7 separate regions of the Homo sapiens genome follow, and regions 2, 3, 4, 5, 6 and 7 are each linked to region 1. Evidence: promoter capture Hi-C in 16 types of primary human blood cells and fetal thymus (Javierre and others, 2016). All regions are on one chromosome and are shown on one strand. Each heading gives the region's core, a stretch centred on a gene start or on the middle of the fragment in contact. The rest is flanking DNA. Distances are from core to core; before and after follow the strand shown.

Region 1 (2,770 bases), core at 161-2,660:
GCTCCAGGTTGAGGGATGAGCATATGCAAAGATACAGAATTGTTACTCAGCCAAGTAGTTTGATATGGGCTGGGGCACTGAATGGTAGGGTGGGATTCAGACCAGATCATTGACAGATAAATGAGATTATCATTCAATGTAGATTGACATAAATCACTTTTTTTTGGAGAAAGAAAAATGATGTTTAATGGCAGGTTTAAAATTACTATGGCTTTAAGAAGAACAGAATTATTGCACTCACTTTTTAAGGACCTGGTTATCTCTCTGAACCACAGGTAATCGGAGTTCAAAGAGTTAACATAGTCTGAAGCCTCTCATTGGTCTCAGGTCCAGAAAAGTTGCTAGGTTACTTTGCAGAAGAGAAACAAATAAAAACACTTTCCCAAGTGAAAAGAAAATTAATAGTAAAAGATGTGTTTAGGGACTTACACATCTGCAGAGCATTGTGTGTGTGTGTGTGTGTGTGTGTGTGTGTAACAGCATTAACACTTAACTAATAAAAATAACTAGGGTGGTTGGGTTTTCAGACTTGCAGGATAGAACTTGTATGAAAGGTCTGGTAAGGAGTGTCAAGTATAATGAGGAATAAGAAAGGTTAAAGAGTTTAAAACCAATTAGAATTTGAAGTTCTTGATTTCAGAACTCTAAAATCCTTTTTTTTTTTTTAAGTATGATATCTCTTTAAGAGCCATTTGGTGTACTTCATAGCCTGATTCATGCCACCAGCTGCCTCTGATTTCAATGAGAAATGCAGAAAATTTATAGGGAACTGTAAAATGGGGACAGATTTTTAGTTTTCTAAATTGAGGTTTAACTGGCAAACTTGTAAAGGTTGAAGAAACCACAGAGCCAAGCTATGGGAAGCTGGTTTCTTTTCTGGTCAGAAGGAATGAACACACAAACACATATCTAACTCACAAAGTGCTGGAAGAGAGAAAGCAATGCTCTTTCCAGAGGAGGAACACGGAAAAATCAGCCTTGTGGGTGAACAGGAGGAGAGTCACATTCGCCAGCAGGCAGCACCCTGTGCAGGCAGTGGGAGAAATCTGAGCTTCAGCAGCGTCCGGAGCAGGATTTGCACGAAGTCTCCCGTTTCAAGTTTTATGTCTCCTGGAGTCCTGGGGAAGGCACCCAGCCCACCCACAGCTCCCTTCTCAGAGCCCTAAGAATTGATGAGAAAGCCCCTCACTACCACATGCAGGACACGCAGGTGAGTCTGTCAGTGACAAGGTCAGACCTTCCCTGCTATTTGACACTGGTCCCCAAAAGGGAACCGTGCCCTCTCCTCCCCTGGCACGTACCTCATTTTCCTGCCTTGGGTGCTCCCGGCTGCCCGGCCTTGGTCCTCCCAGCTTGACTTGCCTGTGAGCTCGTGCCCGGTGTGGTGTCCGTGATGCCTTATCTTTGTTCTGAGGTCCCTGTGTGTCTCTGGAATTGGCTGGCATTCTCCATTCAGGTCACGCCTTCCCCTGCCTGCAACAGATCCCCTCTCCCCCTCTCTCCCTCTGGCTTTTCCTCTCTCCTCTCTCTCTCCTTTGACTTGCTCTTGCACTCCCAGGAACCTGACAACAAAATCTGTCTTCCTACCGAAAAGATCTGCTCCTTCCCTTCCCTCCTTTATCCTGTGTGGCTGACTTCAGCCCTTGAGAGAAAATAACTGAGGGGCTCAAGCAGGTATTTGTATCACTCTGTGTGTGTGTGTGTGTGTGTGTGTGTGTGTGTAGAGAGAGAGAGAGAGAGAGAGTGAAAGGGGACAAAGTCTAATTTCTCTTTAGTCTTTTTTGCCAGATGACTATAATTTTCTGCTTTTCTTCAGGACACCCATGAAAGAAAAGCAATTAAATAGAAACAACCAACTAAGAAGGCAATTCTAGCACCTACACTAGAAGAAAAAAAAAAGGTCTAAATCCCAGAGCGTCTGTCTGCAAATAACTACAGGTTTCCTTGTGAGCAGAGCCCCAAATAACTACAGGTTTTCTCGTGATCAGAGTCACACACAACGACAGGTTTTCCTGTGAACAGAGCCACGGGCCCGGAACTGGGGAAGCACCAAGTCCTGAAGTTGGCTGGTTGTTCCTCCCCATGAGCAATACCTGTGGCACTGTTTACTTGCTCGGAGTGTGTGCGGCTCTACTCCAGCCCAGAAAGGGCCCATCGCAGCAAGAAATCTCACCTCCCCAGGGGTGTAGAAAGACCTGGGCCTGTATATATGTCTATACCCATGGCTTCCGGAGAAATCAACACTAGATCTAAGATGAGCTGAATAATAAGAAAATTACCCCCTCCACAACAACAACAACCAACACTGAATAGGGAGAGGTGTATCTGGGTGTAAAAGTTAAGTTTGACTGTGCACCTTTTCTGTGTTAGACACAGTACTAGTCATTAACATCATCTCAAGTTACTTTTGCAAACTGGTGAAAGTGCTGCTGTTATACTCATTTTACAAGTGAGGACACTAAGGCTCAGAGAGAATATGCCACTTGCCAAGATCATCCAGTTATTTATGACTCCCCACTGCCACTAGCACTAGAAGCTAACAGCTATTGAGTGCTACGTGTCAGGCACTGCTCTAAGCACTTAATATATGAATTCTTTTCAGTCATCTTTATATGTTGTATACATGGCTGGCAATATTCTCATTTTTCAGAGGAAATTGCCCAGAGAGGTTAAGTAACTTTCCCAAGTTCACACAGCTAGAAAGTAATAGAGGCAGAATTTGAAGTGTTAGCCACTGTATTACACTGCTACTCATTAACATTTTATAATG
Region 2 (2,770 bases), core at 163-2,662, 430 kb after region 1:
TCTAATGGCAAACTCCCCAGAAGCGTGGCTATCTGTGAAGCGTAAGGGTCCTTCTAATGGCAGACTCCCCAGAAGCATGGCTATCTGTGAAGCGTAAGGGTCCTTCTAATGGCAGACTCCCCAGAAGCATGGCTATCTGTGTGTAAATTATGCTCCTTTGGTTCCAGGAAATAGACTCATACAGGCCAGTCCAAGTAACGGCAGTGGTGTAGAAATGAAGGCAGTGACCCCATTATACAGTGGTTATAAGAGGGATGGATTATCCTAGAAATCTAAGACTAGAAACCCCCACACAATTATAAGCTTCATAGAACTAGATCCTGAAAGGTCACCCTAGTTCTGCAGACCTCATTCTGGAGCTTTGCCGTTAATGTGGCCCAGCTACTCTTCAGGGGTCAGCTTTTCTCTGCTCCTATTCCTCATTCTAATTCTCTTAGTGCTTACCAATGCATGTCTCTGATAGAACACAGGACAACTTATTATTATTATTAATTTTTTTTTTGAAACAGAGTCTCACTCTGTTGCCCAGGCTAGAGTGCAGTGGCACGATCTTGGCTCATTGTAACCTCCACCCCCTGGGTTCAAGCAATTCTCCTGCCTCAGCCTCCCTAGTAGCTGGGATTACAGGCATGCGCTACCACGCCTGACTAATTTTTGTATTTTTAGTAGAGACGGGGTTTCGCCATGTTGGCCAGGCTGGTCTCGAACTCCTGACCTCAAGTCATCCATCTGCCTCGGCCTCCCAAAGTGCTGGGATTACAGGGGTGAGCCACCGTGACCAGCCTTATTATTAATTATTACTATGAGTGAGACAGAGAGAGAAAATGGAAACCCAGATTTCAAAGGGAATAGCTCATTTCTCCAAGAAGCCTGAGGCCTAACAATTGAATTGAACTGATTAAAGTTCTAATGACAACCACTGTGCGAACTCAGCCTACCCGGACACCTTTAGCTGCGGGACCTTGGACTAGTTCCTCCTTCCATTTCCCCATGTCTAAAACGGAACATTTGTAACCAGGCATGGTGGTGGCCCCTGTAGTCCCAGCTACTCTGGAGGCTGAGGCAAGAGGATTGCTTGAGCTCAGGAGTTCAAGTGAGCTATGATGGTGCCATTGCCGCACCCCAGCCTGAGTGACAGAGCAAGACTCCATCTCTAAGAAAAATAAAATAATAAATAAATAAATAAATAAATATTAAAAATTAAAATGGAACATTTGCCTCTGGTTTTCCTTCCCTTAGGGTTGTGTAAAGAGCAGGAGCCTGTTCTCCACTCTCCACCCCAGGCTCTGGGCGGCAGTAGGAAAGTGCCTTCAGCCCTCCTGCCTCAATCCTTTCATGGGTCAGGTGCAAGATTTGAGCTAGGTGATCTTACCACCCCATCCCTTCCAACTACTAAATAGCTCTGCATAATTCTAACCACCCCTTCCCTTCCAACTACTAAATAGCTCTGCATAATTCTAACCACCCCGCTTCTCTGGGATTACCCCTTACACATCCTCATCACACTGATCCTCAGAAACCTATCCTCTAAAAATCCCACAATGTAGAACACCACGCATGTTCCATGTATGGGTGAAAAGCTGCATTTACATCTTGCTTTTTAGTAAACATTTTATATTCCCTTTGCCCTGGCTTATCTGCTTAGAGACTTTTCTTTTTAGTTATTATTGATTGTCAATTGGCTGCAGTTACTCACTCTTTGATCTTCCCTTTTGTTTAAATGGCCACCCACACTATCTGCCCTCGCCCCTCCATCTCTCTATTAAACAGTAATGAAATGCAAACAAACTTGGAGGTACTCTGGGAGCAAAGGGACCCTGGGGCCAGCTTCCCTTAGGCCTGTGAATTGTCATTCCTGAAGCTGTCTGTTTTGTAAGTTCTCCTGCCAAGTTTCTATGGGAGCAGAGGGATCATTTTCTCCCTTTTCAAAGAGCAGGGTGAGTTGAGGCCTCGAGCTGGCAAGTCCTTTAAAGTCATTTTCAAAGGAAACCTGAGCTGAAAGGCCATGCAGCTGGCAGAGGGTGCTGTGCCTTTCTGAGGCTCTCTGTGGGGTGCTGGGTGGTCAGCTCCCATGGCTTCCCAGCACGTGCTCGGAGCCTGCTGCAAAGGCACTGCCAAGGGACACGGCTGCCCAACAAGTGGGCCCATGGCCCTGGGGACAGGCTCAACTCCACATGCTCTCCCCACTGCCACCCAGGAACAGGAAGGGGGGTGTGCAGGCTTCTCCTCTGGGCCAGTGACCAGAACCACACTTGTCCTCACTGTTCTCAGGTCAAACTTGATCCTTGGCGTTTTTTGAGGTAAAATAAAACTAGGTGCAAAGCAAGCTAGGGTGAACTTACATCTGAATCAGGGAATCATAAATGGTGTAGTTCACTCTCATGGACAGGTTGGAAAGGGGACCCAGAGGGAAAGTGCTTGTCCCAAGTCACACTGGAGGAGGTGGCTGAGTTCTGCCGCAGGGCTCTTGGGACAGAGCACCTCTGCAGGGATGGAGGTTTGCTTGGCCACTAACCATTCATAAAGCTTCTGAGTCTGCAGATGTCTGCCAATCACCCAGCAGACACCAAAAAGCCCCAGATGCACTCAGGCTGAGAAATATATGTCTGGGGCCACATGCCTTCATACTGCCCCATGAGCCGAGGAGAGAGAAATTGTTCGTGAAGCCAGAAAGCAAGATGGGCCTTCTCACTTCCAAAACTGGGCAAACTGAGGTTCAGAGGAAGAAGAGATGCCTATCTATGTGTCAGCAGAGCTAGGAGGGAAGTCA
Region 3 (2,770 bases), core at 197-2,696, 410 kb after region 1:
AGGACACAGGAAAAAGGCCTGCACAGACACTACAGATGGACTTGAGGTAGTCTGGGGAGGAATTTCTGTAGTCCCAGTCCCCAATCATGATCTAAAAGGAGGAAAGGCATGTGGACTTTAGACGGCCTCGTCCCCTTGGCCTCAAGGACTCTTTGCCCTGTGGTAGATGTGCAGCTCCTATAAAGAGTGGGACCCTGGGCTCTAAGTTCCTAAAGAAAGTTTTGCTCAAAGCTAAATCTTTTTATCACAGGTGCATAGATAATAGAGCTAGAGTGGATTGGATCTATTATCTAAGACCAACCCCCTCATTTTGTAAATATAAAAACTGAGAGCCAGAAAGGGAAACAGACTTGCCAAGTTTACAAGGCTACTTAGCTATATAGAGCCAGTTCGTAGCACACAGCAGGTGGTCAATAAATGTTTATGTATTCAGATCAAATTGGATTAATTCACTAAACATATCTAGGAACAGAGCATAGCTGTACCCCCTGCATTCCCCCAACTCCTAGATTAAAACTTTCCCCAATGGACCTCATGGCCTCCTTCCTTCAGTTCCAACTCACTCTAAATGTCAGAGATTGCAGGGACATAGATGATATTACAGCTCTTCATTTAATGTGGACAACTAAGACCCAAAGATGGAACATAACTTTCTCAGGGTCACCCAGGGAGTTAGTGGTATTGCTAGGATTAAAAGCAAGAACTCTCTGACCCAGCCGGCTGTCTTTGTCTTTTTCCCCATCTGAGCTGACACCAGAATAAGCCCGCGACTGGGCTCTGTCTCTCCTTGGAAAGTACCCCACAGCTGTGACCCAGGGGCTGTCTGCAAGGTCCCTCCCCACTGAACCTCTCACCTGCCTGAGGCGTGCTGCTCCAGGTACTGCTTCCAGCCAGGGGCCAGCTCACTGGGCTTGAGGTTGGGGTCTATGATGAGCTCCCAGCTGTCCGCTGGCTTTGCCACCTCCATCTTCTCATAGAAGACTTTCTTCCACTCACAAGTGGTCAAGCTGGTACACATGGTCCTGCTGGCAGAGGTGGCAGTTCGAGCTCAGCCCTGGTGAGAACACAGAAAGAGCACGGATAGGTACGGGACAATTCAGTGTCTACGGTCAGAATCCTCATCGGCAGGACTGGGAGTAAACAGGACCCAGCTCCCTCCTCTGTTACCCTGGAACCTGTTACCATGGTAGCCAGGCAGGGCACCAAGAGTGAGGGCTGGGGAGAAGGGAAGCCCCAAGGGGGAGTTTCAGGGCCCTGAGTTAGGCTTCAGAGGCAGCGCTGGGTAGGCCTGAGAGGAGCAAGCACAGTGGGAGGCCCAACCTCAGACCACACTCATCTGGATTTCCAGAGGTCTCCAGGAGGCAAGGACTATTTGGTGGCCCTGCTTCACCCAACTGCTCTTCTAGCATTCTCCACATCATGTGCTATGGTAAGTACGACACCCTAGGAAGTCAAGGAGAAATGAGGGACAGGGAAAGGCAGAGCCTGCTGCTTCCACACCCCCTGATATGCTGTGACCATCACTTACCATGTGCCTAGCACAAACCGCTTGACCTGTGTGCTGGCCAAAGCAGATCAGATCAGGAAACTGAAGTTTATGCAACCCCTAAGTGGCTCATCCAAGATTCAGATCTAGGCCTTCTGAAACCGAGCTCATTTGTTTATTTATTTTAGTACTATTGTGCTCCTAACAGGGAATTGAGTGAGAAGTAACATCTCTTTGCCCAGGGCAATCTTAGACCAGTTGGTGAGCTAGAATGTAATTTCATATGCCATGCAAAGCACAGTAATAACATTTCAGATTCATAGCGTCATAGAACTGTTAGAGCCCATATTCAGTTCCTGGTCCCAAGCCAGGCTAAGGTGGCTGCTGGGGTAATGAGTTTGTTCTGTGCTGCAGGCTCCTGCTGCCTCCATTACTGCTGAGCTGGAGCAAGAGAGCATCCGTAGCTCTGTGATGCCCAATTCAAATTCTTTAGAAACCAGAGGGGAATCTGACTTCAAATTTGGTAATCCAAGTGAAGACACGGTTACCTGAAGGGAGGCTGCCTTGAGCATGGAAAAGACCAGGCATATGGCTGCTTACCCTAGCTTTGGTCCAACTTCCAACTGTAATCATCTTACGATTCTTTAACCCGGAAGTCTGGATCCCTAGACACGCAGAGTTCCAACAGTAAAGAGCTTCAAGAAGTGAAACAGGTTGCTAAGAACCGGAAGCTCTTGGTGTTGAGTTGCCAAGTGGTTTTCAGGAAGTGTGAAGTCAGGGACAATGTCACTGGATTCTCTCTTGAAATGAAAAGTGTTACTCTAGCGGCTTTGTGCTAAAGACCTCAGAAAGGACACAATTGTCTTTGAACCATTGACTGACAGCTCTAGAAGAGCTCTTTTATTTTTAAAAATCTGGTTTATTTCTTGAACTCTTCATTTCTTAACCAAAATTTATTGACATTGAATTAAAACAACTGAGGCCTGGAAATGGAAAATTACTGGCCCAGGCTCTCAGGACTGGGTAGCTCAAACCTCACTGGGGATTCCCTTAGAAGCCAGTTACCAGACCAGGTGAGACAGAGGGATCCATGAATGGCCAGGAACTGAACGAAGCTGAGATGAGCTTATGGCCTGGCCTAGACCCTCGTGCCAGGAAAGAACCTCTGAGAAATAGTATACCCTTGTTCCCAGAACAAATGGCAATAAAGGAAAAACAGAAAGAGGATGAGAATTGTCAGGGTTTACCTGTATTTTCTTTTTTCCTCAAATAATGCAATCCCCT
Region 4 (2,770 bases), core at 193-2,692, 360 kb after region 1:
TCTCCATTCTAGTCTTGCCTTTGACACTAATCAACTCTGTCATTTTAAGTCTCCAAGTTTCAGTTTACTGTCCATGAAACAGATATAACAGTGCAAAGTGCTGATAAACGACTTCCCAGTCTTTTGAAATTCTCCATTTTTGGCTTCCAGGATACCCTTCTTTTCTGGTTTACTCAGCTCTGTGGTTATTCTTTTTGGTCTCCTTTGTGAGACGGTTTTCTTCCTTTTACCTCTTACTGTGGACTCATTTCAGGACTCTCTCCTTTTTCTGCTTCTCTTCTGACTTTACATGCTTTTTCTGGACAATATCACCCCTGGGCTTACACTGCCAAGCATCAGCTGATGATTCCCAGATCTCATCTGTAGCCCCCAACCTCACTCCTGAGGGAATATCCATCTTCTCACTCACCAGTTCCTCTTGGGTGGTCCCCAGCACTTTAACTCCCCATGCCCACTGCAGACCCACTATGCTCCCCCTAAACCTTGTCCTCTTCTGGTCCTTGCCTTGGGGATGGCACCACCTTCTGCTCTGCTGCTTATATCAGAAAAGTGACAATCATGTTATTTCTCTCCTCAATCCTCAGACACATTGAATAGTTCATAATATTCTGTTATTTATTTCTCCTAAATTTCTTCCTATTTTATCTCATTTTATCCATTCTCATTATCTAGTTAAGGCTCTAGCCTCTTACATGGACTACTTCAGCAACCTCTAACCTGTCTTCTCTTCTTTCAGGTTGTCCTTTTCCAGTTCATTTCCACACCACTATTATACTTAACCACCCAAATCACAATTCTGATTGTTTTATGCCCAGACTTTTTAAAGTCCCTGATTATCTTAAAAAAAAAAAAATTGAGAATCTTGCACAATGTGCTCTATGCCAGTCCTGCAATCTCATCTGTCTCTATTGACATACCTGCCCCCACCCCCCGCCCTCAACTCCACTGCACTTTAGCACTACAAAAATTCCCAATTCTTATTTGAGGTCTCCCAACAGCTTGCAGTCAATTAGCAGACATCTTTTAGAGTGTCTCTGCAGCCTTCAAGGCCCCATCTTTAAAGTTTTCATCCATAGCAGAGAGCCTGGGAAACTATGTTTGTACCCTACGATCTTCCCACTCTGATCATTATGGTACGACTGGAACAGATTCTCGAGCCAGGTTGGGCCAGGTAGTTATTCTCTATCAAGAATTTGGAATTTAGACTCAGAGCTATAAATTAGATATCTATGGTTCATTGGATTCCTTTTCAGTTCTTGGTTCAACCCCCTCATTTGGCTTGGCAGCTCTGGGCCCTCAGGATCTGTGGGATGTCATGATTTTCTATCCAGCATTCCCTTTTTGTTTAAATAAGTATGAAATGAGTCTCTTTACCTGCCACCAAATGATTCTAAGCCACTCATCAACACATCTCATACTTAGTCGTTTTCCCTCTCATTTTCCTCTGACTGAATCATCCTGCAACTATTTTCATCTTATAAATTTCCATGTATCCTCAGGAACCAGTGCAAGCATTGCCTCCTCTGCAAAGCTCTCCAATACTCCCTCTCCCACGGACAGTTTCATTTACTCCGCCTTATGAGCTGCCACTATACTTGCTATCACACTTAGTCGGAACTTTGTTTTATAGGACAGTTTTTTCCTGTAAGAACATGAGCTCCTTGAGAGAGGCCATAGGCATATTTGTATCATCAATGCTAGGAGAGATCCTCACACATAGCAAATACTTAGGACATTTATCTTGAGAACTTGAGTGAGTGAATTGATACTTGTGAAAAATATATAAAACAAACATTATCTAAGCGTCTTGTATAAAATAAAGGTCTTACACATCCAATAGATCATCCCCACGGTTCTAAAATTCTGATTAATGCTTTTTCCTGAATTTTAAACTTATCATAGGTATGACCAAGTGAGTAGCTTTCTGTAAAAATTAAGACAAACACAAGGATACTGACACAGCTCTCATTTAGGGAAATAAAGGGCTCCATGCTAATGGATCAGGCTCCAGTTGGCTCTTTTATTTGAAGCCACTTTTAGGTTGAGTTGTTGAGAAATATCTTGACAGCCTACTTCAACGTTGTGTTTTTCTTCTAGTGTTACAGAGTATAACAATAATGTCCTTTCCTTGACCTCTGCTAATGCTTTTTAGTCTCTCAAAGAAATTGGAAAATGCTCACAAGCAGTCTCAAAAGAGAACTCATACATCCTCCACTTGTTCCAGGGAAAGACTTGTTTCCCTGCATCAACCACCCCCAAAACGGATAAACAAACAGCTGCCTAAATTGTCCTTCAAGGTCCAACAGAGAATCTAGATGACAGTGACACACCTTGGAACTGACTCTCGTCATTCTGGAAACACAGCCTGTGTTTTCCTACCTGTTTTGCTACCTGTTTGACTTGGAAAAATGTTCACATGGCTCTGCCCTCTTCCCTCTATCGAAAGCCCAGTTCCTCTGATTTCCCTGAATGGGAATAAGTCTTTTCTTTTGGCTGTGTCCCCATAGCAATTGTTTTGCACTTCACATGTAGGACTTCCTACACTCAGCCATGAACACATCAGTCTCCACTCCAGATGGGACTTGTCAAGGTCAAGGGCTATGTCTCTGAATATCCACAGCACCAAGTCAGTGCATTGGCACTCAATATTCCTTGTAATTAAATTAAATATATACAAAGAAGATTTTGTTTACTAATCCTTGAGGACCATGGGACGCTGCATTTAGAACTAAACCTAGCTAGCATTAGGAACCCACTTACCCAAATTTAC
Region 5 (2,770 bases), core at 70-2,569, 340 kb after region 1:
AAAAGCTACATATCTCCCTCACAATTTGCCAACAGGCGATTTCTTGTGGGCCTCAAGACCTTCACCTTAAACCAATTCTGTTGAATTTCACCTTGGCTATGTAAATTGATAGCTTATCTTCACAGATGGAGTACAAAGGACACACAGAATCAAGGTCATTCCTCTGCTCACCTGAGACAAATGCATATCCAATTGCTTCTTCTGCCCTACTGCTTATGTAAAAATGCAGATTCACTGAGTCAGACTAAGGCATAAGTTCCTCTACCCCCACTCACATGTGAGTTGTGTCTTCAATGAAAGGCTGTAAAAGACCCAAAAGAATGCAACTTTTTGTCTCTTATCTACCTACTAGAAGCCCCCACTTCAAGTTGTCTTGACTTTCTGGGCCAAACCAATGTATGTCTTACACGTATTGACTGATGCCTCATGTCTCCTAAACTGTATAAAACCAAGCTGTGACCAAACCACCTTGGACACAGGTCATCAGGACCTCCTGAGGCAGTGTCAAGGGCATGTCCTTAACCTTAGCAAAACAACTTTCTAAGTTAATTGAGACCGGCCTCGGATATTTTTGGGTTCATAATATCAGGGAGGTTATGTAACTTGTTCAAGATCACATAGCTAGCAAGTGGGAGACCAGGGCATCAGAGCCAGAATGCCTGTAATCACGAAGTAACCAAATGAAGGAAGATTACTCATGCTCCTGTATTTCTGAACCATCGACCTGAGGGGCAGCACCATGATGAAAATCACAGTCATGGCACTTTTTGTGAGCAACAATTAAAAGCCCTGTGCCCATTCATTCCCTTTCTTTCAAAGGAAAATGGTTGGAATGGGAACAAAGAAAGTAGGTTCTTAAAGTATATTTTATGCTTATATATTTGTAAGTTGTTTTGTTTGTTTATTCAGAAAGGCTTTGAATTGGAGCCAGAAGAGTCCCTCTTTGAATCACAGTTTCCTGATTAGTAAAATAGACTTTTGCCTGTTCTATTTATTTCAGAATGCCTTTGCATGGATTCCCCACTCAGGTACAAGCTTCACAGAAGTGGAGATTTTACCCAACCTATTCATCACTGTTTCTTCATATTCCAACACAGTGCCAGACACATAATAGGCCTTGATAAACACTCATTGGCTGAATGAATAAAAAATGAGACACTAAGGGAATACAGTGTTTCTTTCTCAAAGGGTGGTTCAAGGACCACTCGCTCCAGGGTTATCTGGAGAGTTTGTTTAAAGTACAGATTCCTGGGCTAAAAGGGACTTCTTCACTTATTAATGTTTGAGAACTACTGATATAAATGTTATGTGAGTGTCTGCAAACTGTTCAATTTCACAATTTAATGAAATTAACTTCAAGTGAAGCTGTAATTATCATCTGATTCTGATAAAGAATGGAGAGGGAATCCTACTGTTTCTCTCCACTTTTCCTTTATTTACTTCCTCATTCTTTTATACTTTCCTTCCCTATATTAGTCCATTCTCACATTGCTATAAAGAAATATCTGAGACTAGATAATTTATAAAGAAAGAAGTTTCATTACTTAAGAGTTCCAAAGGCTGTACAGGATGCGAATTAGCTTCTGTTTCTGGGGAGGCCTGAGGAAGCTTCCAATCATGGCAGAAGGCAAAGGGGGAGCCAACACTTCACATGGCCAGAGCAGGAGAAAGACAGAGAGAGGGTAGAGGCGCCACACACTTTTAGACAATCAGATCTCATGAAAACTCTATCATGAGAACAGCACCAAAGGGGGAAATTCACCCCCATGATCCAGTCACCTCCCACCAGACCCCACCTTCAGCATTGGGGGTTACAATTCGACATGAGATTTGGGTGGGAACACTGATCCAGACCATATTATTCTGCCCTTGGCCCCTCCTGAATCTCATGTCCTTCTCACATTTCAAAATATAATTATGCCTTCCCAACAGTCCCCAAAACCTTAATTCATTCCAGCATTAACTCAAAAGTCCAAAATCCAAAGTCTCATCTAAGGCAAGGCAAGTCCCTTCTGCCTATGAGCCCATAAAACAAGTTAGTTAATCACAAAATAAAAAGGGGATACAGGTATTGGGTAAATACTGCCATTCCAAAAGGGAGAAATTAGTCAAAAGAAAGGGGTTACAGGCCCCACACAAGTCCAAAACTCAGCAGAGAAGTTATTAAATCTTAAAGCTCCAAAGTAATCTCCTTTGACTCCATATCCCACATCTGGGGCACACTGATGCAAGGGATGGGCTCCCAAGGCCTTGGGCAGCTCCACCCGTGCAGCTTTTCAGGGTTCAGTACCTGCAGCTGCTCTCAAATAACAGGTTATTTGAAATAACCAAAGTGCAAGCAATAGTATTTGAGATCACTGAAGTCGCCATTTTAATTGGGGAATTGAGTGCCTGTGACTTTTCCAGGTACAGGATGCAAGCTACTGGTAGATCTCTCATTCCAGGGTCTACAGGATGGTGATCCCCTTCTCACCGCTCCACTAGGCAGTGCACCAGTGGGGACTCTGTGTGGGGGCTTCAACCTCACATTTCCCCTCTGCACTACCCTGGTAGAGGTCCTCCATAAAGGCTCCACCGCTGCAGCAGGCCTCCTCTTGGACATCCAGGCTATTCCGTATTCTCTGAAATCTAGGTAGAGGCTCCCAAGCCTCAACTCTTGCACTCAGAGCAAGCTTACTGCCACACAGAAGCTGCCAAGGCTTCCAGCCTGCACCCTCTGAAGAAGCAGCCCAAGCTGTACCTGGGCCCCTTTGAGCCACAGCTGGAGCTG
Region 6 (2,770 bases), core at 138-2,637, 320 kb after region 1:
TAGTGTCCATGCAAGCATTGTCTTGGGGAGGGAAAATCATTAGAGTCCAGACCTAGGCCTTTGCTGGATGGACAGCCTGATGCCACTATTTTCCTTGTGAGATTCCTCTTGATATGAATTCATTCTCAGCGAGCAGCCTCCTGATTAAGGTTTAGCTTCCCAGGGAGGCTTTCTTCTGTGAAGAGACAGCTCTGGCATACTGATGTATGTGGTCTGGGCCTTGTGGCCATGGTCCTTCCTTGAGAAGCTGTAGTTTTGTGCATCAGCATTGTGAGTTTGGCTAGTATGAGTCTGCCCTGGAAGAGCACACACTCCTGGCGGTAATAAAATCAATCCTGAGCCTACATGATTGGGGGTCAGATACCAGGCCATGGTCAATCCTCTGAGGGAAGGAAGGCATCCTTTAGGACCCCTCAAGGTAACCAGCCAGTAGTTCCCCTGTAGGCACCCCCTCGTGCTGTCTTGTGTTAAAACTTCCACAGGGATCAGCATTGAGGGGGCCCTTGGTTTCCTCACTTTGCCTCCTCCCTTTCTTGTTTGGGTGACCCTCATGGACTCCCAGGGGTCTGGCCAGCAGTGATATATATTGCCTCTGGAAACTTGTGCCTGCCTCAGACCCTGCACATTGATGTAAAAAAAAAAAATCATTGCATCTCAAACAACCAAATTGCTAGTACTTTACATTTACTACACACATTACCCATGGGCAAATTTGAAAATTATAGCTCTTCTCGGGTGTTTTATACTAGATTTCAAACAGCCCAGCCCAGCGTGAAACTGCAGGGAACTGAAATGAGTATGGAGGTGGAAAGTGGAGAAGGATCAACTTTATCTCCTGATTAGTCAAGATGAAAAATGATTTGAGAGACATGAGAGGAATGACAATAACATGGTTCATTGGCCTGATTGCCTGTTGTTCATAAACAGATAATGGTGCCCCTGGAAGTTTGTGCAGCTTAAGTCTGCTTGTGATGACCAAATAGGACTGATAGAGTTGTTTTCATTTGGGGCTTCAAACACATTCTTAAAATGCTGTAAAATACCAAAAACACAAAATAAAAAAGAAAGAATTCACAGGATATTCAGTGGTAGGTCATTATTGGGAAGAAGGCAGAACAGCACAGAGTTATTGACCCTTTGAAGTTTAATTTTGAAGCAATCTCCCCTAGAGGCTTTTTCCTGACCTCCACCCTACTCTCAATCAGAAAAGAAGGTTATGGGTTTTTTGCTTTTGTGTTTTTTAAAGCTTCTTTGGGCTGTCCTCCTGGCACTTACTCCATCTTCCTTCCTTTGCAATCACTCACGGGGTGCTGGGTCTCTTCCATTGATTTCTCTTGCAGTATTGGCTTTATGCCATTTACCATTTGCTCACAACAAATGGACAAGGAAAATGCAGGAGAAACCATGATGCAATGGGACTCTCTCATGTATGGACAGCACTTTAAAGTGCTTCACAGATGTGATCCCATCTGAACCCCACAAAAGCCCTGGGAGGTTTACTAGAACTAACACTCTGTGCTTCATATAAAGAAGCTTTTATTCTTCTACAGGCATTATTTTCATAGATCTTCTCTAAAATGGGGATTGCAATTGTTTCTACCTCATAAAGTTGCTACAAAGACTAAACAGAATAAAGAATTTATGTATGTAAAAGCACTCACAACAGGGCCTAGTGCATAAAAAAGGCTCTATATGTTTGCTGTTATTACTTTTTATTATCACTATCTTATTTAATCTGGAATCAGAAGGCTAGGACTGAGGTTTTCTACCTCTAAGCTCAGGGTCCCTGTTAGCACCCTCAGGGCTCTGGCCTGGCATGAACCAGGGTATGTATGGGCCACTTTCTGCTGTGGCCTCCCTTGTCCACTTCTATATCACAGGCAGTTACCATGGACCTTCTCCAAGAGCACTGCCTGCCATGGTCATCTATGGCTGCTTCTATGAAGATACATTTTTCTGCCATTCTGAAAGAGAAAACTTCTCTTTCTCCTCTGGGGTTCGTCTCTTCCCTCCCAGTGGAGAGAGAAGGCCATCTGCTCCTGAGTTCTGCAACCATTTCAAATTTTCTAACAGTGATTTGCTCTTTACCGGAGGCCCAGGCAGGTAATGTCCCATTGGGCAGAAATGCCAGTGCACACTGTCTCCCAGAGAGGTACATTAGGCCAGGCAAGACAGGGGCTGCCTGGCATGCAGCAGCAGGGAGGAGGCTCTGGGCATAATTTCAGTGCTGATTCCAGGTTGGCTGGTCTGGCTCCAAAGGAAGGAGAGCATAGCTGAAGGTGGACCAGTTTCACTTATGCATTCCCAAGCCAACACCAGAGCCGCTGGTGTGCTGGCTGCTGCAAATTCTTCCTCTGGCTACGAAAAGGCAAAAAAAAAAAAAAAAAAAAAAAGAAAGGGAAAACAAGTAAAAAGTTAAACCATTAAACAAAGGCAAACACTGTGTCCTGGGGATCTAAACACAGACACTATTTACTGGATTTATTCTATCATAATGGAACCCTTTTACCATCCTCACATCCAGTCATAAACCTTGTCGAAGTGTAATTGGATATCCCGTGGCATTGGATCCCTCTTGGACACCTCTCGGAAAAACAAACAAACAAACAGACAAAAAACAAAAACCTCCCACTTTCCTCCATCCTCTCTTGAGACATTTAGCTCTTTCTTCCTTGTTAAATGTTGTTAGTCTACATGTCTTGGCTTTCTGACCTCAGATATTACTCCATTATGCAGAATTAACTTAGCTCTCTTGGGAGTCAAGGCAGCC
Region 7 (2,770 bases), core at 176-2,675, 300 kb after region 1:
GCAACCCATTCATACGTTCATACTTCTTTGTGACTGTGGATGGGACATGCCGACTCTCTATCTTTTCTGTGGAGTTCTCAGGCATCTGGTTAGCTTTTGTTTGGCACTTTATATAAAATCTACAAGTCTTTTTAAATGAATTCCTTTGGTTTCCCCATAGAAAAACACATTCTGCCCTGTGGCCAGAGCTCCAGCTACCAAGGCCCAGGGGGAGGGGCAGGGGGCGGGTGGGATGCGGTTAGAAAGTGAAATGAGACTTCCTTGGTTCAGTATGCAAATCTTTCCCTTCCCCTTCCCCGTGTTTTAGGCCATATATTAGACATCAGCCTTGCACTATGTGTGGTGCCCCAACTCAGGAATGAAATGATTCTGTTTTCCAAGAGAGCAAGCCTCAGGTCTCCAGTGTTGTGAGGCACGGCTAACTCCCTAGTAGTCTGTAGTAAGAAAGGGAACCGGAGTGCTCACGATTCTTTTTCAGGCTTCCAGCTAATCTCCCTGCTTTTGCTCCCAGCACCCTCTCCCTGCTCTTTCTGCCACAGCTGAGATTCGTAAGGGTTCTGTGGGTCACATCAGCTCACTTCTCATAGCACCCCACTTTTGGGGTCCTTGTGTTGGCATGGTCTTTACCCCACTTTCAGACTTTTCAAAATATGTTGGCATCTCTTGCTGTGGATGCCTCTCCTGTGCTCCTTTGTCCTTGGGACAAGGGCATGTCTGTAATCAATTCAAAATTGTTTTTAATAGAGATAGGATCTCACTATGTTGCCAGGCTGGTCTTGAACTATTGGGCTCACGTGATCCTCCTGCCTTGGCCTTCCAAAGTGCTAGGAGGAAATATTTTTCAATATTTTCCAGTATTTTTAAGGGAAATCCAGACTAGTTTTAAGGCAACATTTAAAACTCTCATGCTTTCCAGGGCCCTGCTTTGAAAACTTTTGAAGATATCCAGATTCCTTAGTTGAGGCTATTTCCACAGTGCTCCTGAGTCTCTGTGGAATCAAATGACTCAAGCAGCTTCAAGAATCCCTTGTATAACATGACCTTTAGAAAAGTAGAGAAAATGAAAAGCTTCTCTTGGAATGCAAATCATCAATTGTTTGAAAAATCCAAAGTTTGCAACATCATCTCAGGGTGGCTGCAAACATCAAACTGATAAAAGAGCCTCTAGAGCTCCTTTTCTGACATAGGGAATTCTGTGTTTGTTTTTCTTATTGTCTTGAGGAGTTGCAGGAGAGCTTTTCTGTTTTCTCTTTTCTCTTTTAGTATTTTAAAATTGAATCAGACTTGAAGTGACTCCTCCTTGAGCATGTGCTAAAGCAGCTGTGATGACCGGAAGTCATGGCCAGAAAATCTTCCACAGGAAACAACACACTCACACACACACCTTTAATTATTCAAACTCCCAAAGGTTCTGAAGTTAAACAAGTTCTTCCTCGGGAGAGCAGACTTGACCCTCTTTTCCCTACTCTCTTCCCCAACCTCAACTCCTGCACAAGAACTTCAAGGACGCAGCCATAAATTAGGTTGACATCTAGAAGCCCCCTCCATCTAAAACTGATGGAGAACCACAAAAACTGGGAAGGTTTCCTCCTCTGGGGCTGTGAATTTCTGCTTCTCTCATTAATAAGATAATTTTACTTCCTTGGGCAAAATGGAGCATAGCTGTCTCTTATTCATGACAGAGAAATCATAATATTATTTTAGTTTATCTTCAGCACCCCTCCAATTCTCATTGAGTTATTCTGGGCGCAAACCAGGTTATTTTTGGCATTTCCAATGTACTAAGCTTCATGAAGAAAAGAGGCAGAAAAGCAGAGTATTTAGGATCCCGGTATTAAACACACTTGGATTGAAATCCTGGCTCCCTCACTACATGCCTATGATGTTTAGTAATATCTGAATATTATTGGTTACTTAATTTATAATATTCATAATTATCTATGAAATACATAATAATATAAACTTTCAATAGGACAGTGAGAAGGATTAAATTTAATAAAGCATATGAGGAGCTAAACTTCTGTGGCATATAGTAAATGCTCAATCAATTTAGGTTGTCATGATTGTAATCAGGAAGATAAAATAACGTGTGTGTGTGTGTTTAGTTATGCTAGATAGGTGATTTTTGAGCTGCAGAGATTTTGAACTCTTAAACGAAGGAATACCATCATTCTCTGTGCTGGACAGACTTTCTGATGGCTCCAGCTTAATTTCCATCATAATGTTGTAAGACTTTCTCCTTAGTTTAGCTAAAAATTGGGTCCTTGCCACATGACCATGAAATATTAGGCTCGCAGACTCTTTGAAGGGTGAGAAAAATGGAATTTATTGGGCGAAAAGGAAAAAAACTCAGCAACACGAGATAGGTTCCTGTAAACATGCTCTCACATCAGATTGAATCCCAGCTTCCACCCAGGAAGAGGAGGGGCCAGGCTCCTGCCTACTGCAACCGGCATGAGCTTCCCGAGGCTCCACCCAAATGCACAGTCCTCCCAGTGTGCAGGCAGGTCAGAGGTTCTCCAGGGATCCCTTTACACTTGGCTGTCTCAATAACTCAACCACAACTCCTCTGCCAAGGACAGTTCACACTGCCTCTCAGAACTGAGCTCATGTAATGGCAGCTCATGTCATCTTCAGAGAGCTCAGCTGTTAGAAAATCATTCTGATTGTCAGCTAAAATGTTGTTCTCTATAATTTTCATCTGTTGGTTATGCAGCCTCTTGAAGGTGCATGATGCGAGTCTAATCTCATCTTCACTCCATGGTCCTCC

Evidence for each region. Contacts are between HindIII fragments. The CHiCAGO score rates a contact against its expected background, and 5 or more counts as called.
Region 2: a contact is called between a fragment that was not itself captured here and the fragment with the promoter of MASP1 in region 1, in 4 of 17 cell types (M0 macrophages, total B cells, naive B cells and 1 more). The highest score is 6.9, in M0 macrophages.
Region 3: a contact is called between the fragment with the promoter of RTP2 here and the fragment with the promoter of MASP1 in region 1, in 15 of 17 cell types (M1 macrophages, naive B cells, M2 macrophages and 12 more). The highest score is 12.5, in M1 macrophages.
Region 4: a fragment that was not itself captured here is called in contact with the fragment with the promoter of MASP1 in region 1 in 4 of 17 cell types (M2 macrophages, activated CD4 T cells, naive B cells and 1 more); the score reaches 7.1 in M2 macrophages.
Region 5: a contact is called between a fragment that was not itself captured here and the fragment with the promoter of MASP1 in region 1, in 1 of 17 cell types (endothelial precursors). The highest score is 5.3, in endothelial precursors.
Region 6: a contact is called between a fragment that was not itself captured here and the fragment with the promoter of MASP1 in region 1, in 7 of 17 cell types (M1 macrophages, activated CD4 T cells, total B cells and 4 more). The highest score is 6.5, in M1 macrophages.
Region 7: a contact is called between a fragment that was not itself captured here and the fragment with the promoter of MASP1 in region 1, in 1 of 17 cell types (activated CD4 T cells). The highest score is 5.0, in activated CD4 T cells.

What each region holds. Positions count from the first base shown.
Region 1 is chr3:187,290,327-187,293,096 of GRCh38, forward strand. It overlaps MASP1 (MBL associated serine protease 1), which reads right to left and starts at 1,411. Exons shown (of 11, transcript NM_139125.4): 1 at 1,302-1,411. The coding sequence starts at 1,306. LOC101929130 (a long non-coding RNA gene) reads left to right here and starts at 946. Exons shown (of 2, transcript NR_135551.1): 1 at 946-1,210. The HindIII fragment of the contact is 4,632 bases long and covers 1-2,770 here.
Region 2 is chr3:187,718,025-187,720,794 of GRCh38, forward strand. All of the region lies in intron 2 of LOC100131635 (hCG1645011-like), which reads left to right. Among named protein-coding and RNA genes, the nearest start is that of RTP2, 17 kb to the left of the region's middle. The HindIII fragment of the contact is 2,223 bases long and covers 302-2,524 here.
Region 3 is chr3:187,701,111-187,703,880 of GRCh38, forward strand. RTP2 (receptor transporter protein 2) reads right to left here and starts at 1,447. Exons shown (of 2, transcript NM_001004312.2): 1 at 855-1,447. The coding sequence starts at 1,018. It overlaps LOC100131635 (hCG1645011-like), which reads left to right and starts at 1,256. Exons shown (of 3, transcript NR_034062.1): 1 at 1,256-1,429. The HindIII fragment of the contact is 5,389 bases long and covers 1-2,770 here.
Region 4 is chr3:187,651,306-187,654,075 of GRCh38, forward strand. No RefSeq gene overlaps it. Among named protein-coding and RNA genes, the nearest start is that of SST, 18 kb to the right of the region's middle. The HindIII fragment of the contact is 4,522 bases long and covers 1-2,770 here.
Region 5 is chr3:187,632,005-187,634,774 of GRCh38, forward strand. No RefSeq gene overlaps it. Among named protein-coding and RNA genes, the nearest start is that of SST, 37 kb to the right of the region's middle. RefSeq lists an enhancer at 2,737-2,770. The HindIII fragment of the contact is 573 bases long and covers 1,034-1,606 here.
Region 6 is chr3:187,611,518-187,614,287 of GRCh38, forward strand. No RefSeq gene overlaps it. Among named protein-coding and RNA genes, the nearest start is that of SST, 57 kb to the right of the region's middle. The HindIII fragment of the contact is 287 bases long and covers 1,245-1,531 here.
Region 7 is chr3:187,591,026-187,593,795 of GRCh38, forward strand. No RefSeq gene overlaps it. Among named protein-coding and RNA genes, the nearest start is that of SST, 78 kb to the right of the region's middle. The HindIII fragment of the contact is 718 bases long and covers 1,067-1,784 here.